Regions from separate parts of the Homo sapiens genome. Here all the other regions are linked to region 1. The links are contacts of gene promoters, found by promoter capture Hi-C in blood cells and fetal thymus (Javierre and others, 2016). All regions are on one chromosome and are shown on one strand. Each heading gives the region's core, a stretch centred on a gene start or on the middle of the fragment in contact. The rest is flanking DNA. Distances are from core to core; before and after follow the strand shown.

The links. The method cuts DNA at HindIII sites, captures the fragments that hold promoters and counts their contacts. A CHiCAGO score of 5 or more calls a contact.
Region 2: a fragment that was not itself captured here is called in contact with the fragment with the promoter of ZMYND8 in region 1 in 1 of 17 cell types (endothelial precursors); the score reaches 5.5 in endothelial precursors.
Region 3: a contact is called between a fragment that was not itself captured here and the fragment with the promoter of ZMYND8 in region 1, in 2 of 17 cell types (M0 macrophages and M1 macrophages). The highest score is 6.3, in M0 macrophages.
Region 4: a contact is called between a fragment that was not itself captured here and the fragment with the promoter of ZMYND8 in region 1, in 2 of 17 cell types (M2 macrophages and megakaryocytes). The highest score is 7.1, in M2 macrophages.

Annotation. Positions count from the first base shown.
Region 1 is chr20:47,354,014-47,358,915 of GRCh38, forward strand. ZMYND8 (zinc finger MYND-type containing 8) reads right to left here and starts at 2,686. Exons shown (of 23, transcript NM_001281775.3): 1 at 2,644-2,686. The coding sequence starts at 2,657. LOC101927377 (a long non-coding RNA gene) reads left to right here. Exons shown (of 2, transcript NR_134501.1): 2 at 1-620. RefSeq lists enhancers at 2,497-2,666, 2,510-3,117, 2,652-2,946, 3,697-4,046, 3,726-4,331 and 3 more and a cis regulatory region at 4,793-4,902. The HindIII fragment of the contact is 2,834 bases long and covers 2,348-4,902 here.
Region 2 is chr20:48,293,771-48,298,755 of GRCh38, forward strand. No RefSeq gene overlaps it. Among named protein-coding and RNA genes, the nearest start is that of LINC00494, 64 kb to the right of the region's middle. RefSeq lists enhancers at 878-1,623, 1,624-2,367, 2,368-3,112. The HindIII fragment of the contact is 878 bases long and covers 2,830-3,707 here.
Region 3 is chr20:46,752,711-46,757,670 of GRCh38, forward strand. No RefSeq gene overlaps it. Among named protein-coding and RNA genes, the nearest start is that of SLC2A10, 46 kb to the left of the region's middle. The HindIII fragment of the contact is 4,761 bases long and covers 1,102-4,960 here.
Region 4 is chr20:46,543,751-46,548,711 of GRCh38, forward strand. It overlaps OCSTAMP (osteoclast stimulatory transmembrane protein), which reads right to left. Exons shown (of 3, transcript NM_080721.3): 2 at 1,577-2,579. Among named protein-coding and RNA genes, the nearest start is that of OCSTAMP, 4.4 kb to the right of the region's middle. RefSeq lists enhancers at 1,210-2,061, 1,268-1,337. The HindIII fragment of the contact is 2,232 bases long and covers 1,029-3,260 here.

The DNA.
Region 1 (4,902 bases), core at 1,436-3,935:
GCTCTGGGAGCCAGTACTGCCGTCCCTACCTAGTCCTGCTGCAATGCAGACATTTATTTTTTTCCCCCTTTCCTGAAACTGGAAAATAATGCTACTTTGAAAGCAATTAACTTTTTACAGACTCATGCTTGGTAGGGGTCACAGTACCAGAGGAAAAGTGGCTAGCTTGGTCCAGGGTTGGGAACTTGCTGGGGGCTGTACATTTGAAAACAGATCTTGGCTCTCCAAACCTGTGGGAGCCATTTTAATGCAAGCTTTTAGAGGACAAATGCCTTGCCCTTAAGTTCCCTTCCAGCCCAACAAACACAGTATTATGCAAACGTTGAAGGCACCAAACCAGGAGTCTTATGATTAGATATTGCTTCTAGGGAGGCCACAAGAACCTCGATATGTAATTTCCATTTACAGCAAGGAGATAAGAACAAAGAAAATAGCTGAGTGTCTGAACTTACTTGTTTGGGGCAGTGGCACTGTTCAGTTTTAAGTATATAACATCATTAACTGCCTGCAGTTTTACTCTAAGAAGCTAAGCTGGCCTGCCTTGCACAGACTTTTCTCAACTTAGAATGTGGTACGTTTCTGCTGATTAAATGAGCCTTTTTCCAATTCGGTGTCAGAAAGTGGGCTACTGGACACTCATTTGAAAGAAAAAAGATTACTGACTCCATAAAGTTGACATAACACAGCAATTGAATATATTTCCTGCATTTACGGTCATGTCGGATTGGTCTCCAAGCTGAAAATTTATGTACTGAACTTCTAGGGAAATTCTGAAGGTACTGCTAAACAAGACTCTACTTTTCCCACTTAACTTCTAGCTGCAGCCTTAAGTGGTCAAGGGAAATGTAAAAAGTGAGAAATCTTATGTGGGGCCAGCATGCATACAGATGTGTGGAGGAGACCTGAAAAAAGGCCAAAATGTGTTGGTCAGTGAGTCCTGAATCAAACCCAGTCTGGTGGTAGATGAGATTTTGCACTATACATAAGTCCTAAAACATGAGCACACTGACACCACCCCCCCAACACACACATACCACCACCACCACCAGCTTCTACACCACCAATGTTTTTAGGGCTCTGCACCTCTAAGAACAAGCAGTTTCATGACATTTCACAAGCACATCACCTACTCACAGTTTGAATATCCAAACAAACCCCATTAAAGGTCTAGAGTCAAGTCACAATGAACTGAACATTTCTCCCCTGACTCAGGGTAAACAGGAAGTATAATCTTCAATCCTAGCTGCAGGTTATCAGGAAAAACAGTGGATTCAAACAGTCACCTAAAATCAAGACACTCTTTAAAAAGCCCTTATTTTGTTCCTGCTAATGAAGCCCCCAACTCCTGTAGCCAAGACCCACTATTACAAACAGACCCCAAATGTTCGCAAAACTCTTCAAACATGGTCACAGAGGAAATGGATTGCTTTACTTACCCAACAAATGTTCAAGCAACCGTCTCATTTTTCCACAGTTAGGAAGAGAGAACAGGCTGGCAGATTTGGGACTTGATCAAAAAGGAAATTTTTTTAAACAGTTACATGGTATTATTAAAAACACACACAACAACAACAACACAACCCAACAACTGAATATGGAATGCTGTCATGAGCCACAGACATGATTTTATTTCCTCTACACTCCATGACACAGGAGAAGAGAGGAGGATACAATGTATAAAAGGGACAGGAAAATGAAAACAAGGATAAAAGGTAACATTAGTTCCTTGAAAATCATGCAAGAGTAGAAAGCTAAGGGATTCAGAATCCTTGCAGATTTTTTTTTTTTTTTTTTTTTGCAGGATGTTGTCCAAGATCTCTCCCCCCACCCCCCAGTCCCCATCCCTACTCCAAAAAACTTCCTCCAAAGCCTAGAAAACACTTTCAGAAACATTTGCTGGCTGTAGGCTGGCTTGCAGAACACTCTGTAGCAACCTAAGTCAGGAAAACAGGCTGAACAATGTAGTTTCAAGTGCAGAAGCTCTGTAGAATAAGAGAAGACCGTGTACAGACACCACCACCCACCTAGGCCCCAGGAGCTAGACTCTCCTTAGCACTGCTCTGCTGAGGGCACAATTCTTTTGCAAACACGCTCCTCTCTTGTCAAAACTTATCCAGCCTTCCCAGAACCTCTTTGGAGAGGCAAACTTGCCTGCTCTGCTGTCTGCCATGAGCTCTCCTTGGAGAGGAGCCTGTTTGCTTACCTTCCATTTTCTTCCCCCAGCAGGGCATGTGGCAAAAGAGAAGACAATAGTGCAGGGGTGGGAGGGGGGGAACTGCTCAGAGAGAGAGAGAGGGGAAGAGAGAGGGAAGAGGGAAAGAAAAAAAAAAAAAGAAGGAAAAAAAAAAGCTTCTTTTTTGGCATACCAGGATCTAGCTTCAAACTCTTCCAGAAACACCATGCCCTGGTGGAAGGAAAGGTGTGCCAGGCCCTTGCCAGTTTGCAAAATCAAGCTATGGCTAATGGCTACTGAGCCATGTGACCCAAGAAAGCAAAAAAATTCTCTCTAAACAGTTCCAAGTTAACATAAGTGCTCTGGGGGTGAGTGTGGCACGGCCAGCCACAGAGAAATCACACTGCTCGCCCACAATTCGGATGTCTCAGAGGGAGGGGGAAAAAAGATGGTTAAAAAGTCGAGCTTACCTCTGTGGATGCATTGTTAACACTGTGTAATGTCAATACTTATAAAACATGGAGGACAGGCTCCTAGTTCTCACAGAAAAAGGGTTTGGCACTTCGGCTGATGATCTGGCCGCCTAATAAAAGCTCATCCCCGATTGGCTGCCCCGGCAAATCGGAGTGTAAAGCCGCCCCGGATTGGCTGAAACACTTCCTGAGCGATTATCTTTGTGAGGCTCGGGTGAGCAAGAGCCATCCTGTGCATAGAAAAAGACAGGCTAAGCTAGGCCTTTTGCAGCAAGAAAAACTTGGGAAAGGGGCCCCCACACGCACTTCTCCTGCACCCTGGCTAGATTTCCCGGCACGGGCCAGCCAGGGCAGCCAGCCTGACCTGCTCCAGGAAAGCCTGAGGCCCGGAGGTCCCTGGGAAGGGAGTTTCTTGGAGTGGGCTGGAACGGCTCACCCTCACCTGCCCCCAGAGAAACGGCCCTTGTCCAGGGAGGAAGGCCAGCCTTTTTCTAGAACAGTCCAGCAGGGTGGCTCTCCAAGGGGAAGGGGAAGCTGGGGAGTGGGGAGTCCCGGGGAAACAGCCAAGGGGCCAGAAAAAGGGGCTTGAGGCAGGCCTCTGAGAAGCTGGGGGAAGCAGGCAGCCCGGGGGAGCCCCGAAAAATCAGCAGAGAGCAGCCCTGGCTTCTCAGAGGAGCGAGGAGTAGCTGCTGAGGGGAGGAGGGGAGCAGAGTGGTCAAGTTTGCATAGTCATTGTCCCCATGCCTCCTTGCAAGGCAGGCCAGGGAGCCGTGGGCCTCTCGCGCCCTGCTTAGCCAGTCCTGCAGGCAAAATCAACGTGGGTTCCTGTCGCCCTGCCACGATGCCAAGGGGGACCCCTCTCGGTCCTTACCCTAAGAAAAACCCAAAGCCCTCCTCGCAGGCCACATGCCTGGATCTACAAACTTCCCTTCCCTCCCGGCCCCTCCCCCGCGGCCGAGACCTGCTAAACCTGTCAGTTAAACACAAATCTGACTTCCGTATTAGCCTGCGATGCCTTCGGCTTCCTGCCTGTTAACCCTCTCTCGGACTCGGGGCCTGGCTGGGAAAAACTAGGCCTTGAGATCGCAGCGAAGGCCTGTGGAAAAATACCAGCTGCAGCTCTCCCGGCAGATGCAGAAAGAGAGAGAGAGAGCCGCTGTCTCTCAGCCTTTGCTTCCCAGGGAGGCGTGTACCTTGTGAATCCAGGGCACAGGCAGTGCCTCTCGGGCTGAGAAGCCATTTCAATCCAGAGGGAGACAGAAAGATGGCACGCTCAGCCCGGAAACAAGAGCCCCCATTATGCGTCAGGCCTACCCCCGTAGGTCAGCCCTTCCTGCCACAATCATCCCTGTATGTGTGTGCCTGGGGGAGTTGGGCCCTCCTCGGTGGGCAGACAAATCCCCTGGGCTTCCTAAGGATTCTTGCTTCCATTTATTTGCACAGAGAACGGCTTCTTTTCGTCCCCCAAGGCAGATGGAGCAGCGATTTCACACACAGCCCTCCATTTGGCAGCCCCCCCACCCCCCCATCTCTGGCACCGCTCCCCAGTAAAATATTAACTGGTTGTTCAGAGCTGCTTACAATTCTACCCACTTCAATTGCGTTAGGAGGTCTTTGCTGGTCTCCTCCCTAAAGCTGCCTTCGCAGTTGGTCTGTACCCAGAGATAGAAAAGGACCGTAAAATGTCCCCAGCTTTCTCGCTCTCTTTCCTTCTTCGGCATTTTAAATGACAAGGTGCTTAATTAACAGGATTTTTTAAAACAGCAACCTGGAACCACAGAAGCTAAATAAACACCATTCTTTAGAGGCTGGAGAAAGCGTCCAGAGTTAACGCAGCCATATGCCAGGAGGCATAACTCCGGAGCAATAAAGTCTCCCCTCTCCTCCTAAAATTAGGACTTGTGGGCTTTCTTGTCCCACACGGTTCCCACAAAGAAAACGAAGAGCTGATGGCTTGCTTTCCCTGCCCCCCCCCAACCCCCACATGGACAACAGATGCCCACTGCTTGTACATAAATTCTTCCTGGCCGGGAATCTCATATCAAACAGGCTCAGGAACGAGCTGGGAATCGAAACTCACTGTACGGCAGGGCAGGACCCAGGCTTTATAAAAACGGACAGGATGTTGCTGTTGTTACTGTTTTAGGCTGCTGAGGCCAAGCTGCAGGGAGGGACAGCTCCATGGCCACCCAACCTGACAAAGCTCCAGGGCTCAGGACAGCAGGCCTGGGCCTCACCAAAAGGGAGGGGCCTGCT
Region 2 (4,985 bases), core at 2,019-4,518, 940 kb after region 1:
GAAGAGCATTCACCAGCTATGTTTGACTTTAGCATCCAGGCCTTCCAACCGTGCAGACACTCTTTCCATGTGCGGTTGGACTCCAGCTCCAGGGACCACTGGGAACTCTCTGTGAACAGTTCTGTGGTCTACATTACATCTCACATAAAATGCAGCGATTTCACAGGCTGCAGCCCCACCAAAACAGTCTCATAAATGGTTTTTTAAGCTTCCATTCAGCATATAATGCGGTCTCATCCATTTCATTAATCTTGGTTACATTCACATTTTACAGTTTTGTTTTTCTGGCTAAGACCATTGAATTTTTTTTTTTTTTTTTTTTTTTTTTTTTTTTTTTTTTTTTTAGATTTCTCCATTTCTAATACGGAAATTTGGATTTCTGCTCAGAGATCATCGTTCACCAAGAATCTGAATTTTTAATCAATTTCTTATCTATTTGAACACAACATGGATGAGAGACATGTCCAAACCTTTCTGGGTTGCAAATACTGAGTGGGAGGCCAGCCTTCATCACCAGGCGAGAGGTCTTGTTCCACCCCCGAGCTTGACCGCATGGGAATCAAATTCATGACTCAGCCAAGCTTGGCATGGCTGCATGTGATGGGGTATGGTGGCCATCAGTGCTATTTGCTAAATATGTAAGGGCTTCCTTCCTGCCTTTTGGTAGAATTGCACTTCCCTGCCACCTTGCCGTTTGGTGCAGTCATGTGACTGGTGTTGTCTAAGACATGTGAGTGGAAGCAGCGTGTATCATTTTTGAGCCAATGTTCATTAAACCACTTTAGCTTCCACCTGTCATGGTGATTTTCTAGAAATGTGTCAAGATGAAGGCTGGGGCCCTGAGCAAATACAATGTGCAGACACCACTGTATTCACAGAAGGGAAACATAGCATTTGAGAGAATTAGCTGTTTCTTATTTTAAGCTGCTGAGATTTGGGGATCTTTTAACTGCCCATAAGCCATCCCAATTAACACACAGAGTCATTTACAAATCATTAAAGCCTCTGATGTTAAATCTGTGAATTGAAATGTTCTACAATGTGCAAATCACTTTGGTAACTTTTTTTTTTTTCATCTAGAAAAACTCAGTCCTTCGTCAGCTCTGAATTGTGGTGGTAAACTCCTGGGTTCTATCTGAAGTCAAATACCAAGGAGAAGGTGCAAGCTTCGCCTTCTGGAATAAATTCAGTGAACTGCCAAGCTTCCATTCTCTCTCCTTGGTACTTGACTTCAGACAGGACCCGGGAGTTTACCACCACGATGTTTCCTGCTGCCTGCTGTAGCCCTCTGAGCCCTGGGTCTGTGCTCACTATGCTGATCCTGGCGACCATGACCTCAGTGACATTTCTCAAAAATCCCATTTTCTGCTTTGACCTAGGGTCAGAGACACACTCAATAAGCAAGCCTGGTGTCCATCAAACGTTGCTTTAAATAAGAACATAAACTTAAAGGTCTTTACAAGAGAAATGGCATGTGCAGCTAATGGAGACCAGAGAAAGAGTTATTAGTCCAGGAAATCAGGAAAACTGATTAGCAAGACGAAAGGACATGGCCTGAAATCCAACTAAGCAGTGACAGATGCAGATATTATTCTGCAGGTGTTAGTTCATCCTGCTTAAATAGCAAGGCCTGAAGGCTGGTGGGATCCTTCACTCCTTTACGTTGACAACAACAACAAAAAAACACCAAAACTCAAATTTAGATAATCATCAATTGCAGAACAATTAAAAATTATCTTTGTAACCAGAAAACTATTTTTCTCTCCCTGCATGTAATTGTCTGCCCTTTGTCTGAGGCCTTAACAGATCAGAGGTCAAGCATTCTTAAGCTTTGAGTGGAACCAGAGCACTCAATCCAGCATCAAAGTCCTGAATGAGGTCGGCTCCTCCTGGAAAATTTTTGAAAGTACACGTCATCGCATTCCGATGATTCTGGCCTTAAATTTTCCTTCCATTTCTTAGCTGAAGGCCTAATTGAAAACAGCCAAAGCTAGTTGGGTGCTCTGTCTTAAAGGTAAAGAAGGACACCTTCAGGAGAAAGGAGGGAAGAGAGCTGATAGCTTGATGACTCTTCTTGCTGAACCAGCTGAATCTAAGGACTGAGTAGTAACCGGCCACACAGTATAATTTTAGGGACCCTCTAAGTACCACTGGACTGCTGTGTGCCTTCAATACTACCATTATTGCTCCTTTCAGGTGAAGGCACTGAATACTCCTTTTAAAGTAAAAACATCATATAATTGGAAGATTTAATCAGTCAGCACTCTTGGTTGCATGCAACAGAAAACGAGTTAAATAGCTTTAAATGAAAGAATTTTATTACATCAGGTGACTAAAATGTGCCAGGAATGCCTTGTTCGTTGCAGGCACAGCTGGATCTAGAGGCTGCAATGATGTCATCAGGTCCGGACGAGTGTCTCCTGGCCTCTTGGCTCTTCTTTTTCCCTCTCAGGACCATTCTTAGAGAGTATCTCCTGTCATGGCTGAGGACAGATTCAGCCCGGCAGAAAAGAGCCTCTGCTGCTCTCAGAAGCCACAATAAAAGGCCTGTTGCATCTCATTGGCCCCAAGTGTGTCACATGCACCCAGGCACTGGAACATTCATGGCAGCTTTGTTTGTCTGTGATCATGAAAAACACAGAGCCAGCCCGGATGTCCACCAGCTGGAGCTCATGGCGTGGAGTACTCTACAGAGGTTAAAATAAACTGGAAAAGTGGTCATACATGAAAATGCAGTGAAAGTGAAATACACGAGCATAGTAAACCTAAAGTTCAGGTGTGATTCTCAGAGGGAGGGAGGCAAACATGATGGTGGAGAGTTACACTAGAAGCTTCCACTGTGCTTGTAAAGTTTGATATCCTTTGTGAAATGGTTTGTTGCAGAATAGTTTTCTATGCACCTAAAATGCTTTTGAAAATTCAAGCCACAAATACCCAACCCACACTCAGCGTATCATCTTTGCCCTGAAATGATGTCTGTCCCACGTGAGTCTGTGCATCTTGTTAGATAACCTCAGAAACATGAGAACACTCGACTCGTTCTCCTTAGCAGCAGGCTCCTGCTAGCTCCGTTCTCCTGGATCCCTTTGGATTTGTCTTGCTGGGTTGTTGGGGAGTGGAGACGCCCTCCTCCCTGAAGCGTTTCCTCACATGGTGATTTGTCTATTGTGCATCAGTCAGGATCCCGGGAGGACCTGCAGGTGCAGCCACCTCCCCACAGGGACAGAACCAGATCCAGCTGCCGAGAACCAGGAGACCCAATGTCAGGTGCAATTCTGTGCTGGGATCTGAGTGGAACCACAGGTCTGTGCAGCAGGAGGTGAGAAGCTCATGACTACAGAGAGAGGCATGGCTGGGGACCCAGTGCCTCTGCCCCATCTCCATCTCTGCACCTCGGGGCAGCAGAACACTCCAGGCCTCTCTCACAGTGACCAGCATGGAGCAAGGCTGCCCATCTCCCCACCAGCCTGCCCTGAGTATGAAACTCCAGCATTGGAGATTCCTTCCTTTTTGGTTTTCCTTCTTTCCCTTTTATAACTGAGCAACTTCTAGGCAGGATGGCTGAATGAGCCATACCAGTCCACCTTCAGCAGGGGCTTCTGGCTGGCTGATGGAGGCATGTCTCTGGGGAACAGCAGAGCTCAGGGTAGGGACAGAACAGGGAGAGCTGGGAGGAAGGAGAAAGGCCCTGCAGCAGACGCTGCAGAAGCTTTCCATCCTCCTTGCCTTAACCTGGGGCTCACCCAAGTCTATACTCGTGGTGAGGGCAGGGGGAAAATTGCTTTTTCTTAAAGTCAGTCATTGATGACACCTCCTATCACTGAGTATTCTTGGGGCAGGCCTGCCCCAACCAGCTAGACCAATGGTTCCTACGGAATTTTTAAGGTGGACAGAAGGTTCCTCTGGGGACGTTAGTCAGAGCTGGGTGTCTAATGGAGCCCTCACCGCCAGTTCAGCCAGAGCAGCTTGTTTTTGATCTGTTTGACAAATAGAACTTTTCCATAAGGTTCCATTTGAATGAAGTCTTCACACCTAAACATTTGAGAATGGCTGCTTCAGTCTAAGCTGGGATCATCTGGTTTCAAAACCGTCAAAGAAATTTCAGCAGGAAAATTTGGTCAAATAGTATTGCCCTGGGCAGGCTTGTATGCCCACCCACTTTAGCCATGGGCATTAGTTATCTATTGCTAGATAGCAAGCAACCCCACATTTTAGTGGCTCAAAGAAACATGTATTTGTCATCTAGCAGTTTCGTGGTTCAGGAAACTGGATGTGGCTTGGCTGAGTTCTCTAGCTCTCAAGGCTGCAAACAGTATCAGCTGGGGCTGTGGTTTCATCCTAAGACTCACCTGGGGCTGGAGGACCTGCTTTTGAACTTATTCAAGTGGTCTTTGGCAGGATTTAGTTCCTCAAGACAGCGGACCTGAGGCCTTTGGTTCTTTGTGGCTGTTGGCTGGAGGCCTCCCTTGATTCTCACCCCATGGGGAGCTCAGCACTTGGCATCTGGCTCCCCCAGAGCAAGCCGGTGATGGGGAGAATAAGACATTACATCAGTCTTTTTTCTACCCTAATTTCGAAAGTAGCACCCCATCATTTTTCCCATATTCTATTTGTTTGAAGCAAGTCCCTAGGTCTAGCCCACATTCAACGAGAAGGGATCACACAAGGGCACAGATACCAGGAAGTGGGGACCATTGGGAGCCCTTTTTAAAATCTGCTCCCCACACTGTCTCTGGCTACATTTTAGATAGTTGTTAGACTAAACTGTGAATAATTGACAGACTGCAATTTCTTCTATTTCCCTATTTTAGAGGTATCTCTCTCCTGGAAACAGCCCTTGTTCACACCAGAGGTGTGAACAGAAATTCTTTTGCTTTGCTGGCCTCAAACTGATAGAAAAATGTATCAGTTCAGGCAAAGTGTTCCTCACTGGTTTGCTGAATTATGTCTCTTCTTTTTATCCCTTAACTTATAATTTTATGGAC
Region 3 (4,960 bases), core at 2,232-4,731, 600 kb before region 1:
GCTTGGCACATCAGTGCTCAATATGTATCAGCTGTATCAGCAGCCATCATTATTGTTATTTTTTAAGCTGTTTTGAAAACCTTACGGTGTTATTACACCATGGAGACACACGAGGGCGCGCCAGGCATCTATTTAAAAAGTGTTTTCATAGCAGTTCGTGGAGGCTGTAATTTTGAGTGTGTACAGGAGATGGGGGAAAAAGTCTTGGGGGTCCCGTGTGGGTGACAAGGGCAAGTCTTAGTTCCAACTTGGTCCAGTCTGCCAGCCTTGTCAATGAAATACCAGGACTCCCTTCCTGAGTGCTCCATAGTGGAATCAGGGTGAGCGTCCACTCTTTGCAAGTCCTTAGAGGAGAGAGCTGGCTGAGCCGGAGGACTGGCCCGGGGAGCCCCTGCTGCACCCGGACCTGTGTTCTCATCTGTGCAGCAGAAACAATCAAACCCACCTGCAGGGCTATCGTGAGATTAAGCAGGGTCTCTCAGAGATCAAAAGAAGCCCGAACTACTTTCTAGAGTGAAGAACTGGAAAGAAGAGAGAGAGAGAAGGAAAAGAAAGCCTCAAACAATCACCAAGATTGAAGTCACTCTCACAAGGTTAAATTTTACAACTCACCCCTCTGCCTCATATACACGGCAACCTAACAGTGCCAGGCAGAGATGGTGGGATTTATTTTAAAACAGTAACTTATATGGTCTGATAGAAGGACCCAAGCTTGGCCGGGCGCGGTGGCTCACGCCTGTATTCCCAGCACTTTGGGAGGCTGAGGCGGGTGGATCACGAGGTCAGGAGTTTGAGACCAGCCTGGCCAACATGGTGAAACCCCGTCTCTACTAAAAATACACAAATTAGCCGGGCGTGGCGGCGCGCGCCTGTAATCCCAGCTACTCAGGAGGCTGAGGCAGGAGAATTGCTTGAACCCTGGAGGCGGAAGCTGCAGTGAGCGGAGATAGCACCACTGCACTCCAGCCTGGGTGACAGAGCGAGACTCCGTGTCAAAAAAAAAAAAAAAAAGAAAAGAAAAAGAAGGACCCAAGCTTAATAATTTCTTTCTGACCCCTTCTGCTATCAGTTCTGGCGGTGCTTCTCCGTGATTTGGGTATAAGCTTATTCGATAAGGTTATACATATACTCATAAGATAATACACAAAAGCATATGCAGAGGGCTGCGGCAGACAGATTGCTGGTCTACTGGAAAGCCAGCTCCCCTTCTTGGCTAAGAGAGTGCCCAATGTGTTCCATGCACGGCGGATGACAATGTGCCCAATGGAGAGATGCTTCAGCCCCAGCCCCAGGGCATCCATTGCGATTGGGCTAAGTCATTCCTTTCCGCCAGCAATTGCTTTATAGGCAGGCAGATGCCCTGGTTCTGGCCACAGAGACACAAGTGGATGTCTCCTGGGAGCTTCTGAAACAGAGTTTTTGTGTGTGTGTGATAAGATAGAGACACTTGAGAAACTTCTCTCCTGTTGGTCTTATCTTTGGATGTTGTCAGAACGTTTGGAGCTGCAGCAGCCATCTTGTGACCACAAGGGAAAGACCAAGGGAATTGTAGAGACCCCCATCTTTGTGTCTGACATAATCGAGTTGCCAAATTAACCAGCTCAATTGGTGGTTAATTCCATTAATCCTGGAATTATCAAATTCAAGATTTCTTTTTCTTTACTTTCTTTTTTTTTTTTTTTTTGAGATGGAGTCTTGCTCTGTCACCCAGGCTGGAGTGCAGTGGTGTAATCTCGGCTCACTGCAGCCTCTGCCTCCCTGGCCCAAGCGATTCTCCTGCCTCAGCCTCCTTAGTAGCTGGGATTACAGGCGCCCACCACCACGCCCAGTTAATTTTTGTATTTTTAGTAGAGACGGGGTTTCACCAGGTTGGCCAGGCTGGTCTCGAACTCCTGACCTCCAGGGATTCACTTGCCTCAGCCTCCCAAAGTGCTGGTTTTACAAGTGTGAGCTACGGCGCCCAGCCCAAATTCAGGACTTCTGATTATATGACATACTTTCTAGGAAACTTGCAGTTTCACCTCTTTTAGATGACAGATTACTTGCAGTCAAAGCCCATGCAAACAACACAGGCACATGTCAAATGCCCCCTTGGGTGGAACGCAGGAATTTGCATTTCTAACAAGCTCAGGGGGCCACAGTTTGAGTATCATTGAGCCCAGCCATTTCTTGGTCTAGAGTAGGAGCCTGCAGAAGGGACAGAGCTCAGGGGTTAGGCAGACCTGTTTCCAGTTTCATCTGCATCCCACACTGGCTGGGTGACTTTGCACGAGGGAGTCAATCTCTTTGGGCCTGAGCTGCTTCATTGCTAAATTGAGGATAATAAAAGAACTCCTGGTTTTCTCCTCAAATCTGTTTCTCCAGCCACTTTTCCCATCTTTGTACATGACAGCTCCATTCTTCCAGAAGTTGAGCCCCAAATACTGGAGTTACCCTCGAGAACTCTCGTTCACACAAGCCTTACCTTCAATTGGTCTGAAAAACCTGTGGGTTCTACCTTCAATTGTATGCACAGCGAGACCACTTCTCATCACCTCCATCACTACCACACTGGTCCAGGCCTGCATTGCTTCCCGCCTGGGCCGTGGCAGCTGCCTCCTTGCTGGTCCCTGACTCCACCTCACCCCTGACAGTCTGTGCCTCACACACAGCACCAGATCAATTGCTAAAATAAGTAAGTACATCACTGCCTTCCTCTGCTCGGCTCCCAGAGCTCTCACCTCACTCACTCAGAGCAAGAACTGAAACTCTACCATGGCCTTCAAAGCTCTTGGAGATCTGGCTTCCTGGTACCTTCTGCCCCATTTCAGCTCCCCGCACTCCCCACTGTGCTCCAGCTGCCGTGGCCTCCTTGCTGTTCCTTAAACACACCAAGCAAGCTCCTTCCTTCTGCCTGGAACCATCTTCTCCAGGTATCCACATGGCTCCTTCTTTTGCTTCCTTCTGACCTCTGCTCAAATGTCACCTCCTCAGTGAGGCCCATCCTGATTGCTCACCTAGATTTCCACCCCACCCAACTTCTTCTGTCCCTTTTTTTTCTCCATATCCCACCTCACTAAGTGTATATTTGTTTGCCTATTTGTTTATTTCCTCTCCATGTATTGGAACGTAATTTCCACAAAAGCAAGGTTCATATCTGTTTTTCTTTTTTTAAATTTATGTTTAATTTACATACGGTAACATTCACTTTTTGGAGTACAGTTCTGTGAGCTTTGATAAATGCACAGTCATGCAACCATCACCAAAATCAAGACACAGAACAGTTCCATCATCTCCAAAAATATCTTCAAGCAACTTCTGGATAGTGAGGCCCTTTTGCCACCCTGCCCGATGTCAATCATGGATCTGGTCTCTCCTCTGTAGTTCTGCCTTTTCTATTTAATATGTGTCATATAAAAGACACACAGCTTGCAGCCTTTGGGGACGGGCTTCTTTCTTGCAGCAGAATGCTTCTGAGATTCATCCATGTTGTTGCATCCATCAATCGTCTGTTTCTTTTTATTGCTGACTCGTAATTTATCCTATGAATGAGCCACTTGTCAATCCATTCCCCAGGCGAGGGACATTTGGATTGTTTCTAGTTCTTGGTGATTGGGAATAAGCTGCTCTAACCCTGCATGTACTAGATTTTGCATGAACAAAGGTTTTCATTTCTGTAGGTTACACACCAGGAGCGGGATTGCGGGATCATGTAAGTGTGTGTTTAACGTCACGAGAAACTGCCATGCCGTTTTTCAGAGTGGTTGCACCATTTTACATTACCACTGGTGATGGAGGAGCCTGACAGCTGTTCTGCATTCCCACATGTTTTTTCTCATCATTGAATTTCCACCACCAAGGATAGAACCTGGCACTGGTAGGTGCTCAACAAATATGCACATAGTAGGTACACAAAAATATGCATACCTACTATGTGCACATAAACAGATAACTAGAGGCTATCACACAGTGGGATCGGAAGGATGAATTAGGGTAAAATGTATAGAGTGCTTGGTACAGTGCCTGGCCCTTAGTACCTGAGGATCATTGCTAACAGTAGAGGCCACTCTCCCCAGGGGAGGGCCATAGGGCAGGGGCCTCAGCTCCAGCCACACAGAGAGACTGCCTAGCAGAACCCTCCACTATGCTAATCGCTGATTCCTTGAGCTGTAGGCTTTGGGGATATAAAGATCTTCTCCCTCCAGGAACTGAGGAGGTAAGAATCTGCCCCCACGCCAGCAAGACCCGCAATGCTGCAAACACTTCCTGAGGCTCTCTGTGCCCCCCTCCACCCCAGCGTAGGGAACCCAGGAGACCTGGCTCCAGCTGTGTTTTCCTTGCCTCCACACTCAAAAATGGGAGGCCCACAGGCCAAGGAATGGAGTAAGTCTGTTTTCCTAGCTGACCTTGTCCCCTCAAGGGGACACCAGTGCCCCCACGCTGCTGAGTTTTCTCCCACTTTAGCCAAACTCTTTGGCTGCCCTTGTCCACCCCCACTGGGGGCCTGTTTGCCAGAATCTTTCAGCACCTTTTCTTTTTCACAATCACTCTGACCCTTTTTGCTATTGTTTTTTGTAGGTTAATTGAGTACGTTCTCCTCTCGGTGGAGACCGCAGGCAGGGCCAAGCACAACAGGCCCAGCACGAAGGGGGCCTGGGAGGCCCGTCCCAACTCTGCAGCCTGAGGCCTGCTCAGGCAAGGGCAGGGGGACATTGATGGGGCCAAGATGTAACTGACCTCGCCTGCAGGCAGCAGCTAGCTGGGGTGGAGGACGCGGGGGACGAGAGCATCAGGCCTCCCTTTCAATCCCTGCTCTTCCTTCTTCCTCTTTTTTGTTTTCAGAGCAGATTATCCCTAAATTCTCCTTCAGTTGGTATTTTCTGAGCACCTTCTAACCGCAGAAAACTGTAGCACGATGCAAAGTGTAATGACTGACAGAAACGAGGCTTGCAGTGGTCTCACCTGGGGTGAGTTTGTGCCC
Region 4 (4,961 bases), core at 895-3,394, 810 kb before region 1:
TTGTGTCAAGGTTGAATTGGTAGCATTTTCTGCCCTAAGGATACATAAAGTAATGGTGTGACTTGCAATTGATGACTATCTGAGATTTGGTGAAAATGAGTAAATCAGGGAACATGCTTAGAACATTGCCTGACACATTTCTTTACTGTGACCTATGGTAAGAAATGCATTTTACAGGCCAGGCATGGTGGCTTATGCCTGTAATCCCAACACTTTGGGAGGCTGAGGTGAGAGGAATGCTTGAGCCCAGGAGTCTGAGACCAGCCTGAGCCACATAGTGGGACACCATCTCTAAAAAAAATATTAAAAATTAACTGGGTGGTGGTGGTGCATGCCTGTAGTCTCAGCTACTTGGAAGGCAGAGGTAGGTGAAGTGGGAGGCTCGTTTGAGCCAGGAGGTCAAGGTTACAGTGAGCTGTGATTGCACCACTGCACCACTGCATTCTGGCATGGGCAACAGAGTGAAACCCTGTCTCAAAAAAGGAAAGAAAAGAAATGCATTTTACAGTACCTTCAAAGCAGAGATTGTTTTGTAATTGAAGAAAATATTCAAAAACCATACACTCCCTTATTGCCTAAGATGTAATCTTATAATTTTCCAGTTGATTCTATTTCATTAAAAACACTATTTATGACTCCTTAAATTGATTAAATTGATTTTGTGCAGTCTGAAAAGCACTTTCTTAATATGTAATAAGTACTTGATAAATATAAACTGTTAATATTATTAGCTCGAAGTTTGACACTTTGATATGTTTTATGCAATGGACTTTTGTGTGAGACCTCACTACTAAAAATTAAAAATAAAAAGATCCGTGGCAAAAGAAAGGATCGAAAAACACAACTCTTGATCTGATAGTAATATATCCGATTATAAGTCGATAGTAAATATTTTCTATATCACTATTAAAATAGCAAATATTTCAGGCTTTGCAGGACATACAGTCTCTGTTGCAATTACTCAACTTTGCCTTTGTAGGGCAGCCACAGACAATATATTGACAAATGGCATGGCTGTGTTCTAAAAAAGCTTTATTTACAAAACCAAGAAGCCATTGGATTTGTCCTGAAGGCTATAGTTGGATGCCTCCTGATCAAGGCCATTCCAAAGTCCTCCTCCAGTCTGACATAGACAGATGTAAGCTATTAATAATAGCCACTCTTTATTAAATAATCTCTTATGTGCCATGGAGCTTACTAGGTACTTTAAGACAATACCACATTGTAAGACACAATAGCCTTTTAGGATTAGGAGGATCGATTCAATTTGTACAAATGTGGAAAATGAGGCTAGGACAAGCTGCCACTTGTGAAGGGTGACCTTGGATGCAAGTTATTTTAAGGTGTCTGGGTTTCAGCATCCTCAACTGCAATAGGAAGTGAAAATAGAAACCACTTCCTAGAGCTGTTGTGGGTATCCGATGAGTCCCTCTGCCCATGGTATGGGGCCCCATGGATGATTCAAGGGCTGTTTCTTGGAGGCAAGTCAAATTTCATCACAAGTCAAGGGTTTAACAGATTCTCCCCCTGCCCTCAAAACAATGACTCCCTTCCCTTTTCCCATCATCACACTTACATCATACTTGACCGTGAGCGTGATGGGCACAGTTGGCAACTTCTGAGCCCAGTCCACAGTAGCCTGTGCCAGGAGGAAGGCTACATGGTCTGTGGCCACCGCCACAGCCGTGGCCACGAGGAGCAGGGCAAGCAGCCCCAGCCTTAGAAGACAACTCAACAGCTCCTCCTGTGACAGCCTCAGCTGAGCCGCCTGGAGCAGCCAGGTGGGTGGAGGGGCCAGGAGGTGTGTAGCCTGGGCCTGTGCCAACCGCTGGGTCAGCTGTTGAGTGGCGTAGATATTGTCAAACCGCAGGTCTGTCAGGTAGCAATGGAGGTACCATGCCGACTCCACCAGGAGGCCCAACATAAACAGCCCTGTGACCACTCGCTGGGTCCCTAGCGCTGCTGCCCGGGCCAGGGACTCCAGGCCAGAGAAATCCTCCAGGACCTGCTGAGTGACCCTGAGCATGTGAAGGTAGAAGGCAGAGCCATTGTCCTGGGCCTCAAATGTCAGGCCCCGGCTGCCTGCCTGGCCTGTGGGGCCCAGAGCCCTGGATGCTGCATGCAGCTGGTGAGTGGTATTGAGGAGACTCTCCAGGGAGCCCTCGGTGACACACCTCAGCACCTGCCCGGCCGCACCCACGTTGGCCAGGACGTTGGGCACCACAGCAATGGCCAGGGTGGCAGTGCTGTAGGACAGGAGCAGCCGGCGGCCCTGCTCCATACCCAGGGTGGGCACGCTGAGTGCAAACAGGCAGCGGACTGGGGGTACCAGGCCCAGGCTCAGGAAGACCAGGAGGCCACAGACAGTGGCAACCATGGCTGAAGGTCCAGGAGGATAAAGCAGCAAGGATGCCAGCCAGTGATAAACCAGACCTGCAGCAGCAGCAGCCAGGGAGGCACACAGGAGGAGCTGGGTCAGCAGCTGGCCACAGCTGGCTGGAACAGGCTGGGAGAAGGCGTCCCAGGCAGCCTGCAGTGGGGCAAGGGCCTTCCAGAACCCCAAGTGCCAGGACCTCCACCTGCACACAAGGAAATTGAAGGGCATCTCTATCAGGAGGTGGGTGGGTGGGTGTCTGTCCACTGCCCCTGCCCCACATACCCATCACCAGGCTCTGCTAACAGACTCCACCCTTGTAGTTACCCAGGTGGACCAATCAGAGTAAGTCACTGTATACCCACGTGACACAAGCTGAACCAATCAGAGCCTTCCCCAGGATTACTCTCGCTGGAACTGTCAGGGAAGAGCCCAATTCCCATGCAGTACCTGAGGATGTGAGGATGAAAGTCTGCCCTGTTTGAGTCCATTATTACAGTTTTGTGAAGGCAACTGGCCCAAGAGAATGAAAGAGTCATGGAGCGAGAAGCACAGGTGAAAGAGAGAGAATGAGTAAGAGGAGAGAGAAGAAGAGAAACGATTTCACTTGAATTAATAGTCTTGGTGGCTTGCTGTATGATTCTGGACCTTCTATTCTTTCTGAACTTCAGGGTCTCCTCTATAATTTAGGGGTGAGGAGGGTGAACTAGTTGGCCTGTGAGGGACTTTTATATTCTATCATCCTTATATTTATTCATTCAACAAGTGTTTATCAAGCAACGACTTTGTGTTAACCATTGGAGAAACAGGAATGAAAAAAACAGAAGTCCCTACCTTCGTGGGGCTTGCACTATGTTAAGAGCGATGGCAGAGGAGTAGTAAGGAAAGCTTGGATTCTGAACACATTTTGTTGGCAGAGTCAACAAGATTTGCAGAGGCTGATTGGTTGTGGGGTGTGAGAGAAAGAGGGGAGTCAAGGATGACGAGGTGCTTTTGTGTCTGAGCAACTGGAAGCACCAAGGTGTCATTTCCTGAGATGAGAACTCTGTGGTCAAAACAGGTTTGAGTGGAGGGGGAGAGAGGAGGAATTCAGTTCAGAACTCTTAAATTTGAGATTCAGTTGAGCCATTCCGTGGAGCTTTTGACGACGTGGTTGGAAATAGAAGTCAGGAATTCAGAGGGGAGGTCAGGCTGGAGTTATAACATTGGGAGTCTGATTATTAGATGTCTCCCAACTTTATATCCCTACCTAAAGCCATGTGCACCATGAGATTCCTCAAGAGAGTGTGTCACTGGGGAGGAAAGACATCCAAGGACATGCCTCAAGGCGCTCCAAGGTTAGGGGCTCTTAGATAAGGAGGAACCAGCAAAAGAGACTGAGAAACCAATGTGGTGCTTAGGAAGCCAAATAAACAAAATGTTTCAAGGAGAAAGGAGTGATCAAGTACGTCAAATGCAGCCAACAGGTCAAGAATGATGAGGACTGAGCAATGCCTATTAGCCGCTTAGAGGTCACTGTTGACCTTGGCAGGGAGAGTTCGGTGGCTTTTGGGGCCAAAATCCAACTAGACTGGGTCCAGGAGAGACGGGAAGGAGAAGAATAGGAAACACAGATACAGACAACTCTTTCCGGTAATTTCTACACTAAAACAGCAGGGAGATGAAGCAGTGGCTGGTAGCTATGGGAAATTGGACCAAGAGAATTCATGTAAAGGGAGGAAATCTATAGCATGTTTGCAGGTGGGAGATCTCATCGAGAGGGGAGACATTGACAAAGGGGAGACTCCCTGGAGTGACACCTGTAGGGGTGGAGGCAGAGAGTGAGACTGAGAACATGCAAGGTGGGGCTGGTCTTAGAATAGAGCAGGGGTCGTTCATCCTTAATAGCAGGTGGGAAAGCAGAGGAAATAGGTACAGATGATGGCGAATGAACAGGCAGCGTGTATGCACCTGTGAAAAGTATCCTCTGATATACGCAGAGCAGAGTAATGTTAAGGGCATGACCTCTGGACTGCCTGGGCTCAAATTTCTGCTCCACCACTTGCCAGCTATGTGAACTTGGGTACATATCACAACCTTTCTGTGTCTCAGCTGTCTCATCTGTAAAATGGTGCAATAAAAGTATGCACCTCCTGGGGTCACTTTGTTTCTGGCACATGGTAAGTATCACATCAGCTATTACCTACCACTAGAGTCAACTCCACCGGAGCAGGGACTTTGTCCGTTTTGGTCACTGATATGTCCCAAGTGCCTACAATAGTGTCTGCCATGTTGTGAGTGCTCCAAAACTATTCATTAAGAGTAGCATGACCGATTGCTTCTGTTTGCTCAGGTTGGCAGGAAGCAAGGTCAGCAGAGAAGGTAAGATGCTGGCGGAGGTGATGGATGCTTGAAGAGGAAGAAGAAAGTACAAAATGGTTGCCCAGGAAAGTGGGAGAACAAACGAACTGGGGCAATAACATATGTGCTGGGCAACACTGAGGCCCACTTGAGGTTGGAGATCATACATTATCTTAAGTGAGAGCAGGCAGAAAGGTTATACGGGAATATGGTTATAAAGGGCAGGGAGGGTGGTGGGGAGGCTGTC